Regions from separate parts of the Homo sapiens genome. Here region 1 is linked to region 2. Evidence: promoter capture Hi-C in 16 types of primary human blood cells and fetal thymus (Javierre and others, 2016). All regions are on one chromosome and are shown on one strand. The core of a region is centred on a gene start or on the middle of the fragment in contact, and the rest is flanking DNA. Distances in the headings are between cores, read along the strand shown. Region 1 overlaps SLC4A5 (solute carrier family 4 member 5). Region 2 holds the start of C2orf81 (chromosome 2 open reading frame 81).

Evidence for each region. Contacts are between HindIII fragments. The CHiCAGO score rates a contact against its expected background, and 5 or more counts as called.
Region 1: a fragment that was not itself captured here is called in contact with the fragment with the promoter of C2orf81 in region 2 in 4 of 17 cell types (naive CD4 T cells, total CD8 T cells, naive CD8 T cells and 1 more); the score reaches 6.4 in naive CD4 T cells.

The regions. Positions count from the first base shown.
Region 1 is chr2:74,246,920-74,253,709 of GRCh38, forward strand. SLC4A5 (solute carrier family 4 member 5) reads right to left here. Exons shown (of 31, transcript NM_133478.3): 15 at 6,055-6,209; 16 at 5,260-5,469; 17 at 3,424-3,598; 18 at 1,434-1,567; 19 at 117-388. Among named protein-coding and RNA genes, the nearest start is that of MTHFD2, 52 kb to the left of the region's middle. RefSeq lists enhancers at 3,383-3,552, 3,603-3,662. The HindIII fragment of the contact is 4,323 bases long and covers 3,357-6,790 here.
Region 2 is chr2:74,417,172-74,423,067 of GRCh38, forward strand. C2orf81 (chromosome 2 open reading frame 81) reads right to left here and starts at 4,448. Exons shown (of 3, transcript NM_001316764.3): 1 at 4,372-4,448. The coding sequence starts at 4,389. It overlaps WDR54 (WD repeat domain 54), which reads left to right and starts at 4,559. Exons shown (of 10, transcript NM_032118.4): 1 at 4,559-4,645; 2 at 4,982-5,204; 3 at 5,699-5,761. The coding sequence starts at 4,983. It also overlaps the pseudogene HMGA1P8. RefSeq lists a silencer at 4,379-4,658 and an enhancer at 5,059-5,238. The HindIII fragment of the contact is 12,224 bases long and covers 3,445-5,896 here.

The sequences.
Region 1 (6,790 bases), core at 4,268-6,767, 170 kb before region 2:
GTAAGCCCTTGGCTGAATGGCCCCTCCCCAGCAGTAGAAGTAGAGAGCTGTGGTGAAGGATCAGGGGGCCGGTGGGGTAGGTGAGGGCCCACGGCATGTCTGGGGTTACCGGTCACCTGTGTCAGGGGCGACACACTCGCACTTGTAGGTAGTGATGAAGTTTGGCTTGAAGTCCATATTGATAGGGTAGTACTTGAAGGCACCGATCATCTTCTTGATGGCATCGTAGATGAAGATGAAGCTGATAAGGGTGGAGAAGCCCTCCTCGGTGAAGCGGGTGATATATTTGATGATAAAGCTGGCATCTGTGGCCACTAGGATAAGGCACTGGACAGCTGAGTGTAGGCCAATCCAGAGGCGGAACTCCATGTAGTCCAGGCCATTGCCTCTGGAAGGCAGAGGGGAGGTGAGGGGCCTCCAGCCCAGGGCTCCTGGCTGTGCTTGACTCCTCAGACTCATCCTTAAGTGGCTTATCTGTCCTCCTGTGGCACTGATGCCCTCCCAGGGACTGTGAAAGACTGGGGACAGGGACAATTCTTGGGCAGAGTTGTCTGATCTTTGAGATTTCATGGGGGTCCAGTGTTCATCTTTATAAGAACTTTTTTTTTTTTTTGAGAAAGAGTCTCTCTCTGTCACCCAGTCTGGACTGCAATGGCGTGATCTTGGCTCACTGCAACCTCTGCCTCCCTGGTTCAAGTGATTCTCCTGCCTCAGCCTCCTAAGTAGCTGGGATTACAGGCACCCGCCGCCACGCCTGGCTGATTTTTGTATTTTTAGTAGAGACGGGGTTTTACCATGTTGGCCAGGCTGGTCTCAAATTCCTGACCTCAGGTGATCCGCCCGCCCCAGCCTCCCAAAGTGCTGGGATTGCAGGTGTGAGCCACCACGCCCGGCCAAAAAAAAATTTTTTTTAAAGATCTTATGGAGGAGGCAGGAAGGTGCCAAGACATCTCAGTGCTCACAGTTGGTAACAGACACCAGAGTGAGTGAAAAACAGGGAATTTTGGAAGAACAGGGTTGGAGCAGCCCTTGGAAATGGTCTGGTCCAAACCCTCATGTTGTAGAGGAGGCAACTGAGCCTGGAGTAGTGATGGGAGCTGCCTGGGTCTGGGTGTAACCTTCTGACCTTCAGCCCAAGACTTCATACACTATACTGCCTATCAAGTCACCATTGCTCACAAACTGAGTGGTGTGAATTTTCTCCTCTTGTCGTGGCTGGTCCCTATGGGCTGTGCCAATATGCACTAAGATGTCTTAAAGGCAGGTAGCTGGCAGGAGTCAGGAGGGGCCACCTGGTAGCCCTTCCCATAGTTAAAGATGGCTTTGGCACCACCGCACCACCACCTACCCTTGGGACCTATTCCCCTGCCCTAGCCCCAGCATACTGCCCCAAATGCGAGAGCAGGCACTGGGGGCCACCAAGGGACACCTACTTGCTGAAGTCGAAGAGGAGCTTCTCAAAGATGAGGATGGGCCCCGTGCTGCTGAGAATGATGAGAGGCTGTCCCGAGAAGAGGCAGAACAAGGAGCCAGCCATGGCAGTGCCCAGGAAGCTCTCCATCACTCCCTGGGGGCACAAGGAATGTGTGGTTCAGCATAGGAAGGAGAAGCGGTCTCTCCACACAGGCTGCAGCCCCAGCGATCTCTCCACGGGCCCAGGCCACAGTGTTTATCCTTCGTTCTGGGCCCTTTCCTCCCTAAATCCTGTTCTCCATCTCCTACACCCTCCACAACTTGCCACCATGGCCATTGTCACTCTGTTTAATTCCATCTAGATAAAGGTACCATGTGACTTCCTTCTGGCACCCAGGGCCTAGAAAACAGTGGATGTGCTTTTCTCTGTGTCCATTCTACTCCCAGAGGACAGCCCATTTATCCATCTGATTATTCATTCATCTAAACATCTGTTTGGTGCTTTTAGAGGTCAGATCATTCATTTATTCAAAGTCCGCTGAGTGTCTGCTGTGTACCAGGCATTGTGAAAGGTATTGAGAACCCATCACTGAACAAGATAACATATCTTCATTCCAGTGGGAGACACAGGTAAGTAACCAGGCAATTCCCATATAGCAGGGTTTCTCAACCTCGGCACAATGGACATTTTGGGCTAGATGATTCTTTGCTGTGGAGGGTCTGTCCTGTGTATTGTAGTGTGTTTAGTAGCATCCACAGCCTCTACACATTAGATACCAGTAGGAACCCTCCTCCCAGTTATAACAATGAAAACTGTCTCTAGATATTGTTAAATGTCTCCTGGGGTGAAAATTGTCCCTGGTTGAGAGCCACTGCCAAGAGGTGTGCTGGGATAGGTTTAGGGTGCCACAGGAGCACGCAGTAGAGGTAAAGATGTAGTCAGGAAGGCCTCCCTAGAAGTAGATAAGTGGAAGCTGAGATCCAAAAAATGAGCAGAGAATTGGCCAGGGGAATAGGGTTAAGTGGAGTGATAAGAAACAGTGTCCCAGGAAGAGGGAATAGTGTCTAAAAGGTCTGGAGCTGAAAAACAGCATGTACTTGAAGAACCAAAAGATGATCAGGATTGATGGAAAACAGAATGTAGAATGGTTGGGGAGGGTAGGAATGCTGAGAAAGAGAATGCTGGGAGATGAGGCGTGAGAGCCAGGTAGGGCCATGTGGTGAGGGCCACATGGGGCAGCTGGGACTTATGAGTCAAGGATAATGCTTAGTTTCCGGTGTAGACAGCTGGGTGAACCACGGTATCACCTGCTGTGCTGGGGAAGGGCAGGGAGCAGCACGTCAGGAGGGAAGATAAGGGACGCAATGTCAGCTGTGTGAACTGGGGGATCCTGAGGGGCAGCCATGGGGAATCCTGAGGGGCAGCCATGTGGACATGCCCAAAAGGCAGCTTGACAAATGGGTCTTCTCCTTGGGGTACTGAGCTTTCCAATGGCTCTACTTTGAAGGCCTCCATTGGAGAAGACCCTTGCCTAGGAGATTGGCAGGTGTCTGCTGAGCTGTTTTCCCCAGGGAGGCCTGAGTTGTTGTCATGGCAACAGCTTACCATCCTTCTAAAAATGTCTTAACTCCAAACTAAGAATTCAAGGTTAGTTTTTAAAAAGTGTGGGGAGAAGGCCACAATTAGCACTCCATTAATTGTGCTGATTAAATTCACTCCAGCATCAGTGGGAAAAGTACCAAATAACACAGCAGATGATTCCCCTTAACGGTTTGACCTATTTAAATAATCATTAAGTTTGGTCTTTAGTAATGAGATTTAGCTTCAGATCTTTTAATATTGTCTTATTATATTATTATTACTTGAAGCGTAAAGGATTACAAATAGTGATGGCCTCAACCTGGATGGTAGATGAAACCTTGGTTTTGGGATTACAGGATGAAGCTTCCTGCTGCCACCAGGTGGCGGCAGATCTTACTTTTACACTCAGGGCACCGGCTCGCACACACCTGATAATTGTCGGTGGCATCCCCCAGAAGCCCACCAAAGGTGATCGCGTTGGTGATACAGCCGAGGTAGATGAATAGGATGGCAGAGATGGACTGAATGTGGAAGCCATCATAGAAGTCACTTGGGAACCAGGGCAACTTCCTCTTGATATCCAGACACAGGCCACCGAAGAACCTGCTCAAGACAGGCCCAGGGGCTGCTTTCTCACCACTAACACCAGTGCAGGGGCAGGGCTATTTACAAGAACTTGCAGAGTCTGGGGCGAGGAAAGGAACTTGACCAGGGTGGATGGGGCAAAGATCTTTCCACCAGAACATTTAGGGCCAGGGATGAATTCCTGTAGGACTGAGTTTGTGGTTGGCACCACCCACATTGGGAAGGGTGGACATAGAGGGTTTTGGAGAGGGAAAGTCTGATGGGAATATGTCCTGGGGTAGACCTAACATTCCATGGAGAATGGAAGTCCTGGGGTCCACAGATGGTGGTCCTCCTCACATCCCTGACCATCTGCAGGGTGCCTGCTCTTGGTGAACACAGGAGTGTCTAACTTTCGGTGACAGAAGCATCCCAGATTATAACAGATTCATTAAGAACAGATCCTAAACCTTATAACTGGTTGGTATTTGTTTGTTTTTTGATTTTGCTATCTGGAACAGCTGAGTGGAAGATTTTAGGTTTGGAGACACTGTTTACTGGGATTGCTATTCCCATAGCCCCTAATGCAGTCCTTAGCATGGAGCAGAGTTTCTCAACCTCAGTTCTGCTGATATTTTGGACTGGATACTCCTTTGCTGCAGGGGCTGTCCCATGCACTGCAGGATGTTTAGCAGCTACCTACTAGATGCGAGTAGCATCTCCCCTCTCCGGTTGTGACAAGCAAAAATGTCTCTGGACATTGCCAAATTCCCTGGGCTCGGGGGTAGGGGGACTAAGGAGGGCCAAAGCTGCTTACAGTGAGAACCACTGGTATAAAGCCAAGGGCATATAAAACATGACTTCATTCTCAAAGTCATGATTTATATGTAGATTTTCAAGGCCACATCCTTTCCTAAATCTAGATCAACCTGAATGACTCCAAGAGCTGGAAAAGAAACCCAGGCCAGGAGAACTTTCTCTTATTTTCTTTAAAAAAAAAAAAAGTTTTTGAATAGGTAAATTAAGTTTTAAAAAAGGTACTGTTATTGAGTTGTGTCCCCCCAAAAGATATATTAAGGTCCTAACATCTATGTAACACCTATGCAAATGTAATCCAGTTTAGATTAAGTCATTATGGTGGGCCCTATTCCAACATGACTGGGGTCCATACACAAAGAGGAAAGTGCTCTGTGAAGACAGACACACAGGAGGCCATGTGGTGGAGAGGCAGAGCCGGGGGTGATGCGGCTGCCAGCCAGGAACACCAAGGACTGCTGGCCACCACCAGAAGCCAGGAGGAGGCCAGGAAGGATTCCACCTGGAGCCTCAGGGAGCACGGTGGTCCTGCCAACACCTGCTGTGGAACTCCTGGCCTCCAGAACTGCAGGAGAGTAACCTTCTGTGGTTTTAAGCCACCTAGTTTGTGGTACTTTGTTACAGCAGACCCAGGAAACAGGCACCAAAGGATATCTAAGAGAAAAGTTTGGGTTCCTCTCCTCTTGTATGGGTCTCAAATTCCCCTCTCCTGAGGCAACCTTTTGGGGATCCATGATGGGGTTCAAGGGCTCTGGGAGGGAAAGAAGGCAGGGGTGACCTCGAGTGGGCACTACAGACCATGGTTGGGAAAAGTCCCTAGAGGGCAGCTGAGAAGGGAGAAGTCTAAAGGACAGCAGGGTCACTGGGAGGCCTGGGGTGGGCACCTTCCTGTCCAGATAAGTTCCTCCCCGATTTCATGCATGGCTGGCATCTCTCCATCATCCCCGCTGCTTGTTCCGCCGGCCCCGCCACTGCCAGCCCCGCCGCCACTGCCACCACCACCACCACCTCCATTGCCTCCTCCAGGAGCTCCGCCGCCTCCTCCCACAGAGCCATTCATCTGGCCCAGCTCTGCTAGGGAGAACACAGATTTCCTGGAAGAGAAGGGGGATGAAGGAGAGTGGGTCCCCCAGAGCACCCCTCACCTCTCCAACCAAAATTATGAAATATCTTAAAAGACAGACAAAAATGCAGAAAATTGTCTAACAATATCCACACGCAGGTCACCTAGATTTTACAAATGTTCACATTTAGCCATATTTGTTTCTGATATATCTTATTATTTTTAAACTTATTTTAAACATTATTTTGAGACAGGGTCAAACTCTGTTGCCCAGGCTGGAGTACAGTGGCATGATCACAGCTCACTGCAGCCTTGACCTCCTGGGCTCAATCAATCCTCCTGCCTCAGCCTCCAGAGTAGCAGGGACTATAGGTGCATGCCACCATGCCCAGTTAATTTGATTTTTGTTTTGTAGAGACAAGATCTCACTATGTTGCCCAGGCTGGTTTCAAACTCCTGGGCTCAAGTGATCCACCTGCCTCAGCATCCCAAAGTGTTGAGATTACAGGCATGAGCCACTATGCTGAGCCTCAGATGTATTTTAAAGAGAAATAAAATGATACCGACAGAGTTGAAGCCTCCTTTTTCTCTCCCTACTGCCCATTCTCATACACACCTCTTGTCAGCAGAGGGCACCTTCTTGGGGGGCTCAATCCGGATATTTGGGTCCCATTCTCCAGGAGGAAGGACGATGACCTCATCCAGAAATTCATCAATTCCTGCGATCAGATCTTCCCGATTGCGGGCTTTGTAGGCCACGTCACTGAAGAGCTGGCGAGGAGAGAGGAGGGAGAAAAGAAAGATCGGGTCTGTTTCTGAAATGCCTGGGAGCATATCACATCTAGTTTTTAAAGGAATCCCTTTGAACCACATCTCCCACTGCCAACTCACTCTCAGTTTTTGGAATGAGACTATAGTACATTGGTAAAATATGGCACAATGGGACACAGCAGGCACTGGGGGAAGACAGCCTCTCTTGGATCTGAAGGCCAGGTCTCCATATTCTTGCTTGTAGGACTTCGGTTAAGTTACTTAACCTTTCTGTTTTCAGTTTTCCACACATCATACATATTAGAAAACCTTTGTAGAGCCCAGTCCAAGGAGCTCAGATATTTCATAACCATTTTTTACTTCCAGCCCTTCGCCCTTGGAGGCTCAGGCCGTGTTCTTCACACTGTCTCCAGAGTGTGCTTTCTGACTTACAGATTCGATGGGACTATGCTCACATTTAACCCTTTCCCATTTAGGCAAAAAAAAAAAGTGCAGCTCACTGCCAGCACTCATTTAATTTTACATAAACACACTCTTTGAGGCCGAAGCAAATCTGACTGATTTTCAATGTGAAAATGCAA
Region 2 (5,896 bases), core at 3,198-5,697:
GTCCAGAGGTAGTTTGTGAACAAAGGAAAAATGGAACCAGAACCTGGGGGGGTGGCAGGAGCAGGAGGGCTGGGAGTGGGAAGGGTGAGCTCCTTGTTATTGGTGCCCCATCTGAGGAGAGGAAAATGGCCAAGTGGTAGAAGCAAAGTAGGGTTGGGGGAGCAGCCCCAGCCCACCTCAGGTAGCTGCCACAGGGCTCATGGGCCTCACCTGGACAATAGGTGACTGCATCTCCATCACTGCAATATGTACTCAGATCCCAGGCAGACGGTAAGGGGGCTGGGGCCACTGCAAAGAGGGAGTAGGGGACTCACACCCCTCCCGCTTTCCTGTAGCCAATGGGGGCTGTCCAACCTAGTGCAGGGACTAGGGAAGGTGGGGAAGGATGAAAGGTGTGAGCCTCACGTGGTGACAAAGACAGTTTGGCTGGGGGAATCCTGGGGGCCAGCACCCCCCTCCATTGGCCACACCTGCTGCTGCCAGGACAGTGGAGTGGGGTGTGCCAGAATGGGGGCTTGGGCCCCTTTTAAGACCAGGGGAACCCTCCCAGGCCCCTCTATGGGAAGCCAGAGGCAACAGTGGAGGAGCAGAGAAGTGGCTCCCAAACCAAAAGCCCAGAGAGCAATGTCACCACCAAGGGATCAGGGACGCAGCAGGTGCAGGGTGCGGCTAAGCAGGACATTAGCCTTGTCCAGGAGGGCACATGTGTATGAGTGGGTGGACGGGGGGAGGAGGGGGTAGGGATGGGAAGAGGCCAGGGGAAAAGTCCTCTCCACTCAGCCCATAGGGACCTGCAGCGGCTGGTGTGTTGTGTAGTGTGGTGGTGAAGGTGCAGGTGGAAGATGAGGGTGGTGGCTGGAGGCGGTGGTGATGGTGGGTGTAGGGAAGGGGTGGGGGGTGGGAGGTGGGGGGTTGGGAGCAGATCAAAGCTGTCCAGTCCCAGAAGGAAGCTGCTCCTCCAGTGAGGACTCCTGCGAGATGCCCTTCTCTTCCTCCTTCTCCAGTTTTTTGGGTCTTCCCCTTGGTTTCCTTCCCAGAGTTGTGGTGGTTTTCCCGGTCTTGGCAGCACCCTTGTTTTTGCTTCCCTTTGGTCGGCCCCGAGGTCTCTTAGGTGTTGGCACTTCGCTGAGCTCCTTCTGACTCCCTACCAGCGCTGTCCTGGGACTCACCGGAGGCTGCTTGCGCGGCCTGCCACGGCCCCGCTTCTCAGTGCCGTCCTTTTTCTGCTTGGAGGCCAAGGGCTGGCTGGACTTCGAGCTCGACTCGCTCATCTTCCCTTCTCTAAGGACTAGTTGGAAAAGTGATGGCTGGGATGGGCGAACTCGGCCGCTGGCCTGCGGTGCATGCTCCGGTTTGCCGGGAGCAGCGGTGCTGGGCGCTGAGGACAGGCCAGTCTCCACCGCAGCCGCCCCTGGTCGCAAATGCGGATGCCTTCCTGGAGCCGCGCCAGCGCCAGAAATAGCCCAGGCTCGGAGTCCCACTTAGAAGAGCACAGCCCCGGCTCAGGGGAGCTTAAAAAGTTCTCTACATTTTTTTTTTTTAACCAACTATTCTTATCTCCATTTTATGGTAATTTACCCAGTATCATACAAGTAGGATGTAGTGAAGTCAGAATGCATTCACATGCAAGTCTGTCTGACTCCAGAGCCTCTCAAAGACATTTGCAACAAATATGAAAAAAGATAAATATCCCCGAGTAAATTAAAAGCTCATATAAAAAAAAAAATGGCCGGGCGCAGTGGCTCACGCCTGTAATCCCAGCACTTTGGGAGGCCGAGGTGGGTGGATCATTTGAGGTCAGGAGTTCGAGACCAGCCTAGCCAACATGGTGAAACCCCGTCTCTACTAATAATACAAAAATTAGCCAGGCATGGTGGTGGGCGCCTGTAATTCCAGCTACTAGGGAGGCTGAGGCACGAGAATCACTTGAACCCGGGAGGCAGAGTTTGCAGTGAGCTGAGATCATGCTACTGAACTCCAGCCTGGGTGACAGAGCGAGACTCTGTCTCAAAAAAGAAAAAAAAAACTAATAAAATAAAAAATAGAAGAAGAAAAATGGCCAGGCACAGTGGCGCACACCCACAGTACCAGCTGCTCGGGAGGCTGAGGCAGGGGGATTGCTTGAGCCCAGGAGTTCAAGTCCAGCTTGGGCTATATTGCAATAAAAATTTAAACTATAAGAAGAAAAACCATTTAAGATCCCAAAGATAAGCAAAGGACATGACATTTCACAAGAGAGGGACTGTAGATGACTAATAAATATAGTATTGACATTCTGATTTCTAGTTCATCAAATTGGAATTATTTTAAAAACAAGAATACTCAGCATTGGCAAAGGTTTAGTGTGATACCATGCTGCAACAGTATGCATGAAGACATTAAAAAATGTTTTCACTTCCTCAACCCTGCAATTTCAGTTCTATAAATACAACCAAAAGGCATTTTCTGAAATGAAGATAAAAATATATTCTCCAACAAATTCTCTGCGGTATTTTTATAATAGCAGAATATTGAAAACATGTCTTTAAAAAGAGAATAAATAATTGACATGCTATATATACTGAAATATTATGCAATGATTAAAGGTAATCTTTTTTTGTTTGTTTGTTTTTGTTTTTGAGACGGAATCTCGCTCTGTCACCCAGGCTGGAGTGCAGTGGCAAGATCTCGGCTCACTGCAACCTCTGCCTCCCAGGTTCAAGCAATTCTCCTGCCTCAGCCTCCGGAGTAGCTGGGATTACAGGCGCCTGCCACCAGGCCTGGCTAATTTTTTTTCTATTTTTAGTAGAGATGGGGTTTCGCCATGTTGGCCAGACTGGTCTTGAACTGGCCTCAAGTGATCTGCCCACCTTGCAGGCATGAGCCACCAACCCAGCCATTAAAGGTAATCTTTAGAAAGAATTTGCAATGGCATAAAGCAAATGTTTATGATGTAACGTTAATTGAAAGAAGCAGGATACAAACTTACACATCAATTATGATCTCATATATGTAAACCACTATGTGTTCAACAAAAGGAAAACTTCAAAATGATAACAGAGGATACGTTTCCTTCCTATGCTCTTTTCTATTTTGTAAGTTCTCTACAATGAGTTTGTTTCCTTTTGTAATCACTTAAAAAAAAAAAAAGACTAGTCCCCAAAACTCACTTTAGAGACATAAAAAGTTTACAAACAATCTCTTGGGAGCTCCCTCAATTCCCCACAACAGTCTCCCTGAACCTGGTTCCTTCCAAAATGTACTTCCAAATGTGATCTTCCCAAACCTTTGCCTATTGCCCCGCTAAAACCTTGTCTCATATCTGTTTCCTAAAATTCATTATCCCCCCAAATCTGCTGTTTCCTAAGTCTTGCAGAACTCAAAATCCCTGAAGTCTCATTAACCCTATCCACCAGTGAGAACAGCCCTGTAGCAAGCACCAGGAGTGGCCCATAGCCCAGGCCAAGCTTGACTAGAGCAGGGCTGACTGGACTGAGTAAAGAGAGTTGTTTCCTTAGACCTCCCCTCCCAGCCTCGCATCTGACACCCGTGATGGTGACCAGAAGGGACAGAGATATTTTTGCACAAAGGCTCTTCAAATCCGTTTTCTTTCTTCTTCTTCTTTTTTTTTTTTTTTTTTTTTTTTTTTTGAGACAGTCTCTCTCTGTCACCCAGGCTAGAGCGCAGTGGCGCGATCTCGGCTCACTGCAACCTCCGCCTCCCGAGTTCAAGCAATTCTCCTGCCTCTGCCTCCCGAGTAGCTGGGATTACAGGCACCGCGCCACCACATCCAGCTAATTTTTTGTATTTTAGTCGAGACGGGGTCTCGCCATGTTGGCCTGGCTGGTCTTGAACTCCTGAGCTCAGGCAATCCTCCCGCCTCAGCCTCTCAAAGTGCTGGGATTACAGGCATGAGCCATTGAGACCGGCCCCGTTTTCTTTATTTTAAAATTGATTGGCTCTTAAACAATTTGACTTTCAAGTGCAGTCTCTGAATTATTTAATATATTTCTTCCTCTTGAAATTCTCGAAATAGATTTTTTCTGTTATCTTCCCTCTCTAAATGCTCATCCATTTAAATACGCACCACCATGTAAGAGACTTACTACATTCATTAGCTGTTTCAAAATCCACTTCCTGTTCTCGGGCTCTACACCACCCACTGACCCTTTCCCTCATGGCTTGAGTGTAACAAAGCGTTTGAGTGGGCACCGTGCAGGTGTAGGTTTTCTGCCCGAGTACCGACGTGGCTTCCTTGGTCATCTAAACTCCCGCGCGGTGGGCGGGAGCAAGTAGGGGCACTGGGCGGCCCAGAGCCAGCCCACTGTTCCCGACACCGACCTTAACGGCCGACCCTGGCTCTGGCGCATCCCCAGCTGAACTGAAGCTCACCGAGCCTTCGTGCGCCATCGCCAACGCGGTCGCAGCAACGCTGGTGTTTCTGCTGCATCCGGGCCGCGTAAGCCACCTAACAGTCGCCTGGGCAACCACGGGCTCGGGGTCGCTCGCCCCGCCCACAGTTGCCCCGGCAACCGCGCCGCCCGCGGCACGTTCCGGCCGCTCACCCCGCCCAAGGGCCGTGCGTACGTGCGTCGTCTCTATGGTGGCGGCGGATTTGGAGGGACCCTACGAACCAGGAGTCAGGCGAGCCGATCTGGGGCTGCAGGTGTTACCTCTGATCTAGGCCGGGGGCTTCAGGGATCCGAGCCGAGGGAGAAAGCCTTGGGGGCTTCATCACACTTATTTGGCTCGCGGGCTTGGGGCCATCGGGTGGTCCTGTGTCATCCCCATTCCTCCTCTGCGATTCCCCCGTCGCCCCAAAACAGCCCTGGGACTCCCCTGTCTTGCTCCTCGAGACCCTCCCCCATCACCGTCCTCTGGGCACCCCATCCTATGACCCAGTCTCAGGCATCTTCCGAAATGCTCGATGATAGCCGCCCTCGGGCATCTCCGCTGCGTCTGTTTGTAGCGCGCCTGGTGATTCGGCTGCACCCCCACACAGGATGTTCCGCTGGGAGCGCTCCATTCCCCTGCGAGGCTCGGCCGCCGCCCTGTGCAACAACCTCAGTGTGCTGCAGCTGCCGGCTCGCAACCTCACGTATTTTGGCGTGGTTCATGGACCAAGCGCCCAGCTTCTCAGCGCTGCTCCTGAGGGTGTGCCCTTGGCCCAGCGCCAGCTCCACGCTAAGGAGGGTGCTGGAGTGAGTCCCCCACTTATCACTCAGGTGAGGCATGGAGCTGGGAGTGATGTTGCTGAACCCAGTCCTACCCCCAGCCTTTTCTCTCCAAACCTTCAGGAGCAGGCATGTCCTAACCTCAGAATCTCCCCAGGCATGTCCTAACCTCAGAATCTCCCCTCTCCTGCCGGGCGCGGTGGCTCACGCCTGTAATCCCAACACTTTGGGAGGCTGAGACGGGCACTTGAGGCCAGGAGTTCGAGACCAGCCTGGCCAACATGGTGAAACCTCTTCTCTACTAAGAATACAAAAAAAATTAACCGGGTGTGGTGGCGTGCACCTGTAATCCCAGCTACTTGGGTGGCTGAGGCAGGAGAATCGCTTGAACCCAGGAGGCTGAGGTTGCAGTGAGCCGAGATGGCGCCACTGCACTCCAGCCTGGGCCACAGAGCAAGACTCCGTCCCCCAAAAAAAAAAAAAAAACAAACAAACTCATCTTCCCTGCTTTGATTTTCTCCCTACACTGATGCACCTCCCTCCAGGTCCACTGGTGTGTCCTCCCCTTCCGAGTGCTGCTGGTACTCACCTCACATCGAGGAATACAGGTAAGAAGAGGACTCTCCTGCTTGCCCCACCAGAGCCTTCTCAGCTTCCCTGCCAGGCTTCCAGACTTTCCCACTTGCCTCTAAACACTTCCAGACTTTTCACATGCTTGGCCCACTCACTCTTTTTCTATTTCT